2 separate regions of the Homo sapiens genome follow, and region 1 is linked to region 2. The links are contacts of gene promoters, found by promoter capture Hi-C in blood cells and fetal thymus (Javierre and others, 2016). All regions are on one chromosome and are shown on one strand. Each heading gives the region's core, a stretch centred on a gene start or on the middle of the fragment in contact. The rest is flanking DNA. Distances are from core to core; before and after follow the strand shown. Region 1 overlaps LINC01531 (long intergenic non-protein coding RNA 1531). Region 2 holds the start of HAMP (hepcidin antimicrobial peptide).

The links. The method cuts DNA at HindIII sites, captures the fragments that hold promoters and counts their contacts. A CHiCAGO score of 5 or more calls a contact.
Region 1: a contact is called between a fragment that was not itself captured here and the fragment with the promoter of HAMP in region 2, in 2 of 17 cell types (monocytes and total B cells). The highest score is 6.4, in monocytes.

What each region holds. Positions count from the first base shown.
Region 1 is chr19:35,410,591-35,416,928 of GRCh38, reverse strand. It overlaps LINC01531 (long intergenic non-protein coding RNA 1531), which reads right to left. Exons shown (of 5, transcript NR_040046.1): 4 at 5,647-5,767; 5 at 89-450. It also overlaps the pseudogene RN7SL491P. Among named protein-coding and RNA genes, the nearest start is that of LINC01531, 8.2 kb to the right of the region's middle. The HindIII fragment of the contact is 289 bases long and covers 3,990-4,278 here.
Region 2 is chr19:35,277,133-35,284,314 of GRCh38, reverse strand. It overlaps HAMP (hepcidin antimicrobial peptide), which reads right to left and starts at 1,787. Exons shown (of 3, transcript NM_021175.4): 1 at 1,648-1,787. The coding sequence starts at 1,737. USF2 (upstream transcription factor 2, c-fos interacting) reads right to left here. Exons shown (of 10, transcript NM_003367.4): 8 at 5,523-5,617; 9 at 5,241-5,369; 10 at 4,494-5,148. The coding sequence ends at 5,059. RefSeq lists enhancers at 1,416-1,925, 3,312-3,361, 3,452-3,531, 3,971-4,115, 3,622-4,121 and 1 more and a cis regulatory region at 4,037-4,050. The HindIII fragment of the contact is 2,484 bases long and covers 522-3,005 here.

The DNA.
Region 1 (6,338 bases), core at 2,885-5,384, 130 kb before region 2:
GTAACAGTAGTAACTGCTGTAATGACGGTCTGGAGCAGTAAGAGTAGTAACTGCTGTAGTGATGGACTCAAGTAGTAACCTTGGAAGTCAGCCACAATGCTTTTCTTGAATGTTCACGACAATCTGAATTCAGTTAAGAAAGGCAAGGAGTGGAGAGGTGGGGCACTCCTTTACCCCTGGAGTCCTGGGGAAAGTGTCTGTCCTGGATACATCTGGCACTTGTGCCAATCTGCTAGGTTCCTGTGAGGGTCTCGGGTCCTTCTTTGAACTCCCTTTCCTCTGGGCAGGTCGTGCATGCCTGGGTCACTCCCCACCACTCATTACCTAGGGTCAGGCTGCAGGGCTGCAGGGCTGGGGTGGGGAGAAGAGCTGGTGGGAAGGCTGGTGAGCCTTCTTGCAGAAAGAGCTGGATTTACGCCATCACGTTGAAGAGGACCTTGGCAGCTTTTACTGAAATGGAGAATGCAAATGCTGTGCCTACCAGTGGAAGAACTCTTCCACGTGTGCGCGAAGAGACACACACAGGGATGTTCAAAGCAGCATTGTCATGCTGGCAAAGAATGGGAAGTGATTTAAATGTCTATCAATAGTAGAATGGAAAAAATAAAACTCGTCTTATTAATATGATGGACTGCTAGAGCAGACAAAATAAATCAATGAGATATGTAAGGTTTAGTGATGGAGGCCAGATAGCAAAGGGATGATTTGGGGTAGAAAGTAGCTAGTTGCAGAATGACTTGTACTATAGGTATTTATGGATATTTGAAAAAACGCAAAAGAATACTAAACAGTGTTTAGGTGCAAAGTATATTTGCAAGGTACAATTTAAAATCATGGACAGGAAGGATGCACTTAAAGTCCAGTATGACGCTGCCTCTGATGAAGAAGGTAGGAGATTCAGTGAGAGAGAAGCATAATGGGAACATCAATCACAAAAATCTAAAGAAATACGACTCAGTGTTGGCTGGTGCAGTGGCTCACGCCTGTAATCCCAACACTTCGGGAGGCCGGGGTGGGCTGATCAACTTGAGGAGGTCAGGAGTTTGAGACCAGCCTGGCCAACATGGTGAAACCCCATTTCTACTAAAAATACAAAAATTAGCCAGGTGTGATGGTGTACACTCGTAATCCCAGCTACTCAGGAGGTTGAAGAGGGAGGATCACTTGAACCCGGGAGGCGGAGGTTGCAGTGAGCTGAGATCATGCCACTGCACCCCAGCCTGGACAACAGAGCGAGACACTCTAAATAAATGTCTCACAAAACTCAATAGTAAAACAAAACACAATCAAGCAATTCAATTAGAAAATGGGCAAAAGGCTAATCTTTAGAACAAGGATGAGCATAAAGCAATGAATATACAGGCTTGTGCAGAGCAATTACATTATGTCCATCTCAGCTTCAAACTTGCTTTAAGCTAAGGAAGGAGAATATTTGGTTTTCAAATCTAAAAATCCCCAGAGTAGATCTGCTTTAGGACATCAAATGCCTGAATGTGTGGTTTTTCTCTGTTTCACCTTCCTTTAAGTTGACTTCAGGCTTAGGCAGCCTCTCTTCACAATGGCCCCCAGAAGAGAGGGACCAGCCTTCAAGTTCAAGATCAGTAGAAGAGAGGTTCTTTCTCCTGGTGGTTAAAAGAGAAGGGCTGGCCAGGTGCGGTGGTTCATGCCTATAATCCCAGCACTTTGGGAGGCCAAGGTGGGTGGATCATGAGGTCAAGAGATCGAGACCATCCTGGCCAACATGGTGAATCCCCGTCTCTACTAAAAATACAAAAATTAGCTGGGCGGGGTGGTGCGCGCCTCTAGTCCTAGCTACTCAGGAGGCTGAGGCAGGAGAATTGCTTGAACCTGGGAGGCAGAGGTTGCAGTGAGCCAAGATTAACGCCACTGCACTCAAGCCTGGTGAGACTCTGTCTCAAAAAAAAAAAAAAAAAAAAAGGCTGGATCCACAGTGGGTGCACTCTGTCACCCAGGCTGGAGTGTGCAGTGGCATGGTCTTGGCTCACTGCAACCTCCACATCCCGTGTTCAAGTGATTCTTCCGCCTCAGCCTCCCAAGTAGCTGGGATTACAGGTGTGCACCACCACGCCCAGCTCATTTTTGTATTTTTAGTAGAGACAGGGTTTCGCCAAGTTAGCCTGGCTGGTCTCAAACTCCTGACCTCAACTGATTCGCCTGCCTCAGCCTTCCCATGTGCTGGGATTACAGATGTGAGCCACCATGCCCAGCCTGGGTTCATCTTTCATTGGTCTGGATTGAGTCATGCACCCAAGTGTGAACCATCACTGTGGTCAGAGGATGAACTGTAGATGAGCAGGGTCCTGGTTTCACACCTGCCCCTGGAGCAGGAGCTGGGGGTAAAGTCAGCTCCACCAAACCACATGGCAGAGGACAAGGGAGAGATGTTGCTAAGAAGGCCAAACCAATCGGTGCCATCTCTGATTGCTGGTTCATTTTTGAAAAGAGACTGTAGAGAATGTTATGATAAAATTGCAATCCTCAGGGTCCAACAATCAGTACACTCTTCCACCCCTTCCTCTTGTGTTTTTTTTTTTTTTTTTTGGTTGTTGTTTGCTTTAGACGGAGTGTCTGCTCTTGTTGCCCAGGTTGGAGTGCAATGGCATGATTTTGGCTCACTACAGCCTCTGCCTCTTGGATTCAAGTGATTCTCCTGTCTCAGCCTCTCAAGTAGCTGGGATTACAGCTGCACACCACCACGCCCAGCTAATTTTTATATTGTTAGTAGAGATGGGGTTTTGCCATGTTGGCCAGGCTGGTCTTGAACTCCTGGCCTCAGGTGATCTGCCTGCCTCAGCCTCCCAAAGTGCTGGAATTACAGGCATGAGCCACCATGCCCGGCACACCCCTCCCTCTTATCACTGTGTCCCACCCCTAGGAGCAGGACTTCCCCAAGGTCATTGAGAGTAACATTGTAAATGGTGGCATCTTGAGCCCATCTTTAGGAGAAAGGTCTCCCATAAGTTTACAGAAATCAAGTGACCTAACGTCACATCACAGTCCCTTTCTGGTGGACACTCACTCTCCCCACCATTAACCTGAAAACCGGAGAGGGCTGAAGGAGCCTTGCCGGTAACCTTCAAACTTCCATTCCTCGCTTAACACAATGCCTCAGGAACCATTTATTTACCGGGAGGTGCAATGGAACTAGTTGAATCGCCCTAGCTTATATTAACTAGGTGCTATCAAGTAGTCTAACAGTAAAATTGAGGCTTTCACAAAGGCTTTGTGAATTCCCCCGTTCAAAATAAAACACACTAAGCCTGTTTATAACTTTTGCCCTGAAAATCTTTCTTTAATCTTTGCTGACAGGAATTAAATATGCACTTTCCCTAGGATGACATAGGACAAATATAATTAGTATTATGCTTTCCTTCTCCCCCAGTTCCTATAGCCTCTAAGATTGGAAATCCTACATATAGTTTGGGTTAATATTCCACCTAATTGTAGATGAAGTAATCCTTCCCCATAAAACAAGAAGAAAAACTCCAATTTAAACAATCCTTAGGCCAGGCGCGGTGGCTCAAACCTGTAATTCTAGCACTTTGAGAGGCTGAGGTTGATGAATCACTTGAGGCCAGGAGTTCAAGACCAGCCTGGCCAACATGGTGAAACCCCATCTCTACTAAAAATACAAACATTTGCCAGGTGTGGTGGCGCATGCCTGTAATCCCAGCAACTCGGGAAGCTGAGGCATAAGAATTGCTTGAGCCTGGGAGGCGGAGGTTGCAGTGAGCCAAGCTCATGCCACTGCACTGCAGCAGTCTGGGTTACAGAGCGAGACTCTGTCTCAAAAAAAAAAAAAAAAAAAAAAAAAAAGCATCTTTAGAACAGGAACTAACATAACATGGTGAATACAGGTCTGTGCGGCGCAATTACATCCCATCCATCTGAGCCGGCTTTGTTACTTCTTTATCTCCTCATGGAATAGTTCTGATTGTTAAGTATCATATTTAATATCTCAACAAGCTTTGCATTTTATCAGGCAAACTTTAAACTCACTTTGAGAGGTTAAGTGGCATTAGACTTTATGAAATTTCGAATCATTAAAGACACATCAGGTAGCAGAAGGTTTTATATGTGCACAATTGCACTTAGCAGAGTAATCCTGTCTGTCATCTCACCAGGTCAGCAATTCTCAAACTTGTGGATCTCAAGGTCGGTTTATACTCTTGAAAATTACTGAAGGGATGGGTGTGGTGGCTCACCCCTCTAATCCCAACACTTTGGGAGGCTGAGGCAGGTGGATTGCTTTAAGCTTAGGAGTTTGAGACCAACCCGGGCAACATGGCAAAACCCCATCTCCACAAAAAATACAAGAATTAGCTGAGCATGGTGGCGTGCACCTGTAGTTCCAGCTACTTGGGAGGCTGAGGTGGGAGGGTTGCTTGAGCCTGGGAAGACGAGGCTGCAGTGAGTTGTGTTCATGCCACTGCACTCACCCTGGGTGGCAGAGTGAGACACTGTCTCGAAAAAAAAAAGAAAAAAGAAAAAAAAGGAAAGAAAAGCAAAAATGAAAATTCCTGCCAGGCGTGGTGGCTCATATCTATAATCCTAGGACCTTGGGAGACTGAGGTGGGCAGATCATGAGGTCAGGAGTGCGAGACCAGCCTGACCAACATGGTGAAACCCTGTCTCTACTAAAAATACAAAAATTAGCCGGGCATGGTGGCTTGTGCCTGTAATCTCAGCTACTTGGGAGGCTGAGGCAGGAGAATCGCTTGAAGCCAGGAGGCAGAGGTTGCGGTGAGCCGAGATCACACCACTGTACTCCAGCCTTGGCAACAAGAGTGAAACTGCGTATCAAAAAAAACAAAAAAAAAAAACAAAAAAAAAACAAAGTTAAAACAGAAAAATTTAAAAATGTGTATTAACTTATCTTATAATAATAATAACCATAAAACCATTACATGTTAATATAAATGACACGTTCCTAGAAAAAACAACTATATCTTCAAAAAATTCGTGACAGTGGCATTGTTTTACATTTTTGCAGATCTCTTTAATGCCTGGCTTAATAGAAGACAGCTGTATTTTCCTATCTGGTCTGCATTCATTCCGTCATGATATCACGTCACGTAGCTCTCAAAACCTCCACTGTGCACATTATTTGTGAGATAATGAAGGTGAAGAGAGCAATCAGCATTTTAATAGCATTATGAATAGTTTTGACCTCACAGACAGTGCTTTGAAAACTGCTGCCCTAGATTCACATAGTTCGAAGCTACTTGGGTTGGGTTTTCCTTGATGTGTGGTATTAAAGGGAAGAAGGAAGGGAGGGAGGGAGTAACTCATTGAGGAACTCCTACCATCTTACAGTGTTTAAAATAACCACTAAATAATGGAAACAGAACATACAGTTTCCAAGTCAGTGGAGGAATAAATGAAATGAGAAAGAAAAGAAATAAACGAACTGAATCTCAAAAGAAGGCTAGAGAGAAGAAAAAAAGAAATATTAAAAGGTGAGGGATGGCTTGGCAAGGTGGCTCACACCTGTAATACCAGCACTTTGGGAGGCCGAGGTGGTTGGATCACCTAAGGTCAGCAGTTCAAGACCAGCTTGGTCAACATGGTGAAACCCCGTCTTTAATAAAAATGCCAAAATTAGCCAGGCATAGTGGCACACACCTGTAATCCAAGCTACTTGGGAGGCTGAGGCACGAGAATTGCTTGAACCCAGGAGGTGGAGGTTGCAGTGAGCTGAGATCATGCCGTTGACTTCAGCCTGGGCAACAGAGTGAGACTGTGTCTGAAAATAAAATAAAATAGAATAAAATAAAATAAAATAAAATAAAATAAAAGATGAGGGAAATAAAAAGCACAAAATAATATGGTAGACTTTTTGCTTTTTCTTAAATAGGTGTGTTCACTCTGTGATATTTGTGATAGTTTATTTGGCCTGTACACTTATTATTTGGCCATGCATGGTGATATGGTTTGGCTGTGTCCCCACCTAAATCTCATCTTGAATTGCAGTTCCCATAATCCCAAGTGTCATGGGAGGAACCAGGTGGGAGGTAATTGAATCATGGGGTGGGTTACCCTCATGCTGTTCTCCTGATAGTGAGTGAGTTCTCACGAGATCTAATGGTTTTATCAGATGGCTTCTCCCATTTTGCTCTGCACTTCTTGCTGCTGCCATGTGAAGAAGGACCTGTTTGCTTTCCCTTCCACCATGATTCTATGTTTTCTGAGGCTTGCCCAGCCCCGTGGAACTGTGAGTCAATTAAACCTCTCTTCTTTGTAAATTACCCAGTCTCGGGTATGTCTTTACTAGCAGCGTGAGAATGGACTAATACACACGGTATGCATGTATATTT
Region 2 (7,182 bases), core at 538-3,037:
CGCCACCACACCCGGCTAATTTTTTAATTTTTTGTAGAGGTGGGGTCTGGTTGTGTTGCCCAAGCTGGTCTTGAACTCCTGGGCTCAACTGATCTTCCTACCTTGGCCTCCCAAAACTCTGGGATTACAGGTGTGAGCCATGGTGCCTGACTGGCAGATTAAGTTTTTTAAAACATGGCCAGTGAGATTGTGGTTTTCTCCATTTTAAAAACCTACAGGAGGCTGGGCGCAGTGGCTCACGCCTGTAATCCCAGCACTTTGGGAAGCCGAGGTGGGAGAATCACCTGAGGTCAGGAGTTCAAGACCAGTCTGGCCAACATGGTGAAACCCTGTCTCTACTAAAAAAACAAAAATTAGCCGGGCGTGGTGGCAGCCGCCTGTAATCCCAGCTGCTCGGGAAGCTGAGGCAGGAGAATTGCTTGAACCCGGGAGGCGGAGGTTGCAGTGAGCCCAGATGATGCCACTGCACACCAGCCTGAACGACAGAGCGAGACCCTATCTCAGAAAAAAAAAAAAAAGCTTATGGGGGCTTCCTCTTTATTCCAAGGAAAAATCAGTGTCTGCATGGTTGCCCACAAGACTTAGGGACTGCCCACCCCTCAGCCTTATCCCCAAGTCCCACCATCTCCTCTTGTTCAGCCTGACCCTGGGCTATGCTGGCTTGTCCTCTCCTTAGGTCTTTGCTGCCTCCATCTCTCACCCTCCAAGACGAAGGTCAACTGTCACTTTCTCATGAAACACTTGCTTGACTGCCAGCCCCTTGACCATGCCTGTGGTCCCCCAACCCGTGGCATGTGCCTGCTGTCCCAGCTACTTGGGACGCTGAGGTGGGAGGATTGCTTGAGCACAGGAGGTTGAGGCTGCAGTGAACTATGACTGCACCACTGCACTCCAGCCTCAGCAACAGAGGAAGACCCTGTCTCTAAAAAACAAACCAAAAAAGTGACTCTACTGTGTGGCGAATGGGTCACGGTCACTCTACCACTGTCTGTTATGAGATTCACGAATAGAATGTACTAGACACAATTATTTATTCATGTTTTCATCAGTCTTTAACAAATTCCCTGACCAGGATGGAGAAATCTCCTCTCTCATCTACCTTGTTCATGGCCTCGTCCCCACTGTCTAGAATAAGACTCCACACGGCGTAGGGGTTCCGTAAATACCCATGGAATTAGGACCTTCCAGTCCCTGTCACTCGGTGCTTCATTGATTTCTGTTCTTTTTTGGAGATGGAGTCTTGCTCTGTTGCCAGGCTGGAGTGCAGTGGTGCAATCTCAGCTCACTGTGCAACCTCCACCTTGCGGGTTCAAGCAATTCTCCTGCCTCAGTCTCCCGAGTAGCTGGGATTACAGGCACCTGCCACCAAGCCTGGCTAACTTTTGTATTTTTAGTAGAGACGGGGTTTTACCATGTTGGCCAGGCTGGTCTCAAACTGACCTCAAGTGGGCTGCCTGCCTCAACCTCCCAAAGTGCTGGGATTACAGGCATGAGCCACCGTGCCTGTCCTGGTTCCTGTTCAGCTGCCAGTACTCCTGAGACGTCCTGAGCTCTGCTCAGTGCTCGGGTGTCTCCAGTGCCCTAGGCTGAGGCCTGGCTCTCCCATCCCTGCTGCCCTGCTAAGGACCCAGGCCACTGGGCTCTCACCTGTTGTGGGAAAACAGAGCCACTGGTCAGGCTGGCGAGGAGGAGGAGGAGCAGGAGGCAAGCGGCCCAGATCTGGGAGCTCAGTGCCATCGTGCCGTCTGTCTGGCTGTCCCACTGCTGGGTCTTGAGCTTGCTCTGGTGTCTGGGACCGAGTGACAGTCGCTTTTATGGGGCCTGCCAGGGGAGGCGGTGGTCTGAGCCCCCTCCCCTTTGCTCTGTCTCATTTCCAAGAAGGTGGTGGCGCCGAAAAGGCGGGAGAGATAAGCGGGAACAGAGCGACAGGGAACAGGGTTGTGTCACCCTCAGCCGGCAGAGGTGTGTTCAGGGGGTGGGGCAGACGGGGTCACAGACACACACTGCTCACCAGCCATCTGGGGAGCCCTTTCCCCATCACGATGTCATTCTGCTGATCGGGAAAAAAGTTCCCCCTTTTGCTTCAGCGGTTAAGCAGTTTGATGAGCAGAATCAAGGTTCCGCTCTCCTCCACTCACTTCCCCATCGCCTACATGCACACGGGGCATGGCCAGCAGCCGCCAGGCTCCTCAGGAGTGTCTGGCATGTTGGGGGAAGCATCCATTGCTTTAAGCTCTCACCACACGTGCATAGGTTCTGGCAGGGAACACTAGATAGCCCTGAGCAGGGCAAGCATCAGCGTGTGCCCGATCCGCACGTGGTGTTTTCCCAGTGTCAGACCCTTGAGATGTGGCTCTGGTAACTGGAAAATGTTTGAGCAAACTTTTGGCCATAAATGACAGCAGTAATATGGCCCAGCACAGTGGCTTATGCCTGTAATCCCAGCAATTTGGGAGGCCAAGGCAGGAGGGTCGCTTGAGCCCAGAAGTTCAAGACTAGCCTGGGCAACATAGGGAGACCCCATCTCTACAAAAAAAATTTTAAACAAATTTAGCCAGGCGTGGTGGCACACATCTGTAGTCCCAGCTACTTGGGAGGCTGAGGCAGATCGCTTAAGCCCAGGAGGCTGAGGTTGCAGTGAGCTATGATTGTGTGACTGCACTCCAGCCTGGGTGACAGAGTGAGACCCTGTCTATAAAACATAAAATAGCAGTAATAGTAATAGCTAACATCTACAGTCCGATGAGTACATTTTATACGATGGCACATATGTTGACTCACTTCTGCACCAACTCAGCCTGTGCTGCCTGTTCTCCCAGCAGCACTTACTGCCCCACCTTCAGCTCTGCTCTGTATTCAGGGGCTGCCTTCTCAGTCACCCAACCCCAGAGGCCTGGGCTCCCCAGACCCTGCTCCCTTTTAGGAACCTCCTCCCCGTCGGACACTCATTTCCTTCACTTTACAGAAAAGGCACTGAAGGCAGAGATCAGGGCATGGCCCAAGCTTGCTCAGCCAGAGGCAGAGCTGAGATTCTAGCCTGGACAGCCTGACTCCAGGGCTTTTGCTCTTACCCACCAGGTTTCCCCATCTCCCCTAAAACACAGCAGGGCACAGCGGTATGCTAGACCTGGCTCAACATAGCAGACCATGCACATCTCGAAACTCTGCATTCAGTGGCATCATGCTGGTATCCTGAAATCAGCAGCAGTGGGAGTCTTGACACCCAGAAATTGGCAAGCACTACAAGCCAGGGATGTTTTTGGGGAGCCGGTTCCTTAGGACACCACTAGCTGGGGGATGAACCCAGGCTGCCTGACTGCAGTGCCTTCATTCCTTTCCACTACCAGGCCCAGCTCAGGGTGCACACGGCCCAGGGGATCAACAAACCTTGGTTCCAGATGGGCCCTTGCACATTTTGCCTCTTTGCCTTTTTCATTCCAGGGCCATCCAGTGTCAGCCAAGTCACCAGAGCCCGGGGATGTTGTTGTCGAGGAATGAACACTTCTTCCTGGTTGCTGAACCACTTTCAAGGCCCACTCAAGCACAGAAATGCACAGGCCCTGCCATCTGCCTCCTCATCCACACCACGTGGGAGGCTCCTCTTGTCACAGCCTGGGTAACAAAGCGAGACCCCATCTATACAAAAACTTGGCTGTGGTGCTACGCACCTGTAGTTGGTCAAGGCTGCAGTGAGCCGTGATTGTGTGCCACTGCACCCCAGCCTGGGTGAGAGTGAAACCCTGTCTCTAAAAACTAAATGAATAAAGATGGCCTCAGATGGGAATAGCTAGGAAAAGGAGACAGGGCTCTTGTGGGAAGAGACGAGTGCAGGGAGTGGGGGAATTGGGGAGGAAAGGCAGATGGAGCTCCACAAGGTGAGCAGAGTGGCAAGCCCAGCTCCTGGGAGTTGAAGGGTGCTGCAGGCTGAAGCAGGGCCCAGTGAATAGGGGTGTGCTCACCTGGGGAGACACAGGAGCAGCCCCCAGCCCTACCAGGCATCGCTGCATCTCAGCTGAGGACAGGTTTCATCATCAGCAGGGGCAGGGGTCACAGCACAGGCGCCAGAGCCTTGGTGCAAGGCGACAGGCTGACGGGCCAAGCTTGGCGCCCTGGCCATCTGCCCTCCCTGGGGGTGAGGGGCTCAAGGCCAGGCCCCACTATTGGCTGGTGCAGAGGGGAGGGCTTTGGCCCAGCAGGGCAGGGCCAGGGGCTGGTTGTGTTTTCAGGAACTGTTGACACGGAGACCCCTGCCTCTCCTCCAACATGGGACATGTCCTTGACCCCAGCTCCCCACACCCTCATGCACGTCTAGGGCCTCAAAGGGGACATTCATTCCTTAATTCCTCCATCCATCCAACCAACCACTGGGTAATGGGTGGTGCAGCTGGCAGGGACCATGCACAGCCATGTGCACAACAGCAGAACCATGCCTCGTGGAGCTCTGCAGACCCCAGGCCCCCTCCCCACTCCTGAGATGGACAAACACACAAGCAGACAAGGCGGGGGCCACATGGGGCCAGTTTATTGCAGTTAAATACCTCTCTCTCTATTTTTTTTTTGTCAATTTTTCCATAAAGAAAATTAAAACACACACACACACCCCCAAAGGGGAGCAGGGACCCAGAAACAAGAGGTGGGGTGGGACGTGGCCTCCCTGCATAGGTCCAGGCCCCGGGTGGCCCCCCAAAGGCTCCCCTCCTTCCCATCAGCACCCTGTCTCAGTACCTCCAGAGAGCAGGAGGCAGCGGGACGTGGCAGGGCCTCTGTCCCCTCCCTCTTGCCTCCAGGTGAGACCACTAGAAGTGCCGGGGCTTAGTGAGGGCCGGGAGAAGGGCGACAGACAGACGGATGGGCAGGGAGGATACCGTTTCCAAGTGGAGGAGGGCGGTGGGCACTGTATCCACAGAAATGCATTATTTCTCCCCGTTTTTTGTTAAAAATCTACTATAAAAAAACGCAGCTGGGGGAGGGGCATGTGTCCCTCTCTGTGCTAAGGGCTGGGGAAGGGGGCAGCAGAGGCCGGCGTGGGCGGCGGCGGCTGCGTGGTGGTGGCGGGCGTCACTGCCGGGTGCCCTCGCCCACCATCTCCAGGTTGTGCTGCTGCAGCTGGGCTCGAAGCAGGGCGTTCTCATTCTTCAGCTCCTCGATCTGGCGGACACGACGGAGGTCAAGGGAGCTGAGGGCCAGCGCCTTGCATCTGGGGCTCCTGGGCCCTGACCCGCTCCAGGCCCCGCACCCACCTGCTGCCTCAGGAGCTCGTTGTCCATCTGCAGCCGCTCGGCCTCTTTGAAGGTCTCCTGCATGCGCTGGTTGGTCTGGCGCAACTCCCGGATGTAATCGCAGGCCTTGGACAGGATCCCTCCTTTACTCTGGGGGGCGAGGGGACCAGGAGCCTTAGGGCAGGCACCGCCCACCGGCCTCCACCCCAGGGATGACTCCCGAGCCCCATGGCTGTTGGACTTTCTGCATGCAAGGGTCGGGGGCCGGGACCACCGCAGACACTGAGGGTCCGGGGTGCTCACCGCTCCCGTCTTGCTGTTGTCTGCGTTACAGTCTGGAATGATTTTCGAAAGCTGGACGATCCAGTTGTTGATCTTGTCCCTCCGCCTCCGCTCCACTGCGGAAAACAGAGTCACAGCCACGGCTTCGCTGACGGATCATGCCTGAGCGGCCGTCCTCACAGGGCAGAGGCTCAGCCCAAGGACACCCAGGAACAGTGCAGGCCCCACCGAGACCACAGCCCTGGGAAGTGAGGGGCCGCACCCTGAGCCCAGCCGGCCCCCACCCCAGCTTCTCAAGAGGAACAAAGAAACGTGGGCCCTCCAGTGCCACACATGCTTTTAGGACGGGCATCAAAGGCCAGGCACTTGGAGATCATTTTGCAGGCCTGCCCCACCATACTTGTACAAATTTTAATCGACAGTTAAAAATAAGGAAATTTCTCATGGTAATTGGCATCACTGGCTTCTTTTGAGAAATGGAGCTCTGGTCACAGTGGGCACATACTGGAAGGCAGGGATGGACAGAGCCACTCTTCGCAGGACCAGTGCCCCTTTTTGGCTCCTGCGGCCCCTGCACTGCATTCTCCAGTCTCCCCAGAGACTCTGGCACCGTGATTTTGTTTTTTTTCCTCATCTCTAAATCCAAGTCTGACCATGTTTCACCCCTGCTTAAAATCCTTCCACAGGGCAATGGCAGATCCCAACTGGTACTTGCAGCTCCCAGGGCCTGGCCCACAAAGCACCAGCTCACCCAGGAAAGACCCAAATCCTATGTTGAAGGCCAGAGATGGCAACTCATAGAAGGTTTTACTTAAAAAACCCAGATTTGTGATTTTACTCCATAAAACTCCACAATCTCATGCCAACTGTGTCAGCTGGGTGGCAGCTATCCCCAGACAGAGCACATGCCTTTCTCTGGCCACATCCCATCCTGACACCTGCCTGGGGACTGTGTGCTGCGGAGCCTGAGACCCCTGACTCAGGACCTGCTAAAGCCAGGCTGTCCCAACCCTGGCTGCCAAGCCCCAGCACCAGGCACCGTGGGGACAGGAAAGAACGCTCAGCTACCCCCAACTCCTACCCCACGGACCCCCAGCCCCCTGCCAGGGTGGCTCATGCTGTCTGCACCATTTGTGGAGGGGAACGAAGCCCTATAGCTAGGGCACATGTGGCAGGAAGGCCAGGGGGTCTTTTCAAAGCCTTGGATAATGGTGATGAAACCGGTCAGGGGTCCAGTGAGCCTGAGAAGGAGGGGTGGGCCACAGCCTGCCCGTTACCCTCACACCCCGAGATCGGCAGCTCCCCAGACCTGCCGTTCCCTTGAAAAGGCTGGGGCCCACCCACCAGCAAACCCCTCTGGCTTCTCTGGGCTGTGGCCGCATGCTGCTGACTGGCCTCTCCCTGCCTCCAGTGCCTCCCACTCAGGCCTGAGTGACAAACCCTCCGATGGATGCGGACTCTCCTTCTCCCACCGTGACCTCTCTTCCCTGGCCCCTTCCATCCTTGTGCTCCCTCTTTCCTCCAAAACCAATAGCCCAAGATCAGTGCTTGCTATGGAGCACGGTCCAGGCCCTGCACTGGGCTCAGCGAGTGCTTGCTCCCCTATTACTATCGCGGTGCGCTGAACCTTCCCACCAAAGACAACCACACCCGCCTTTGGGAACTCTGGCCAAAAGCAGCA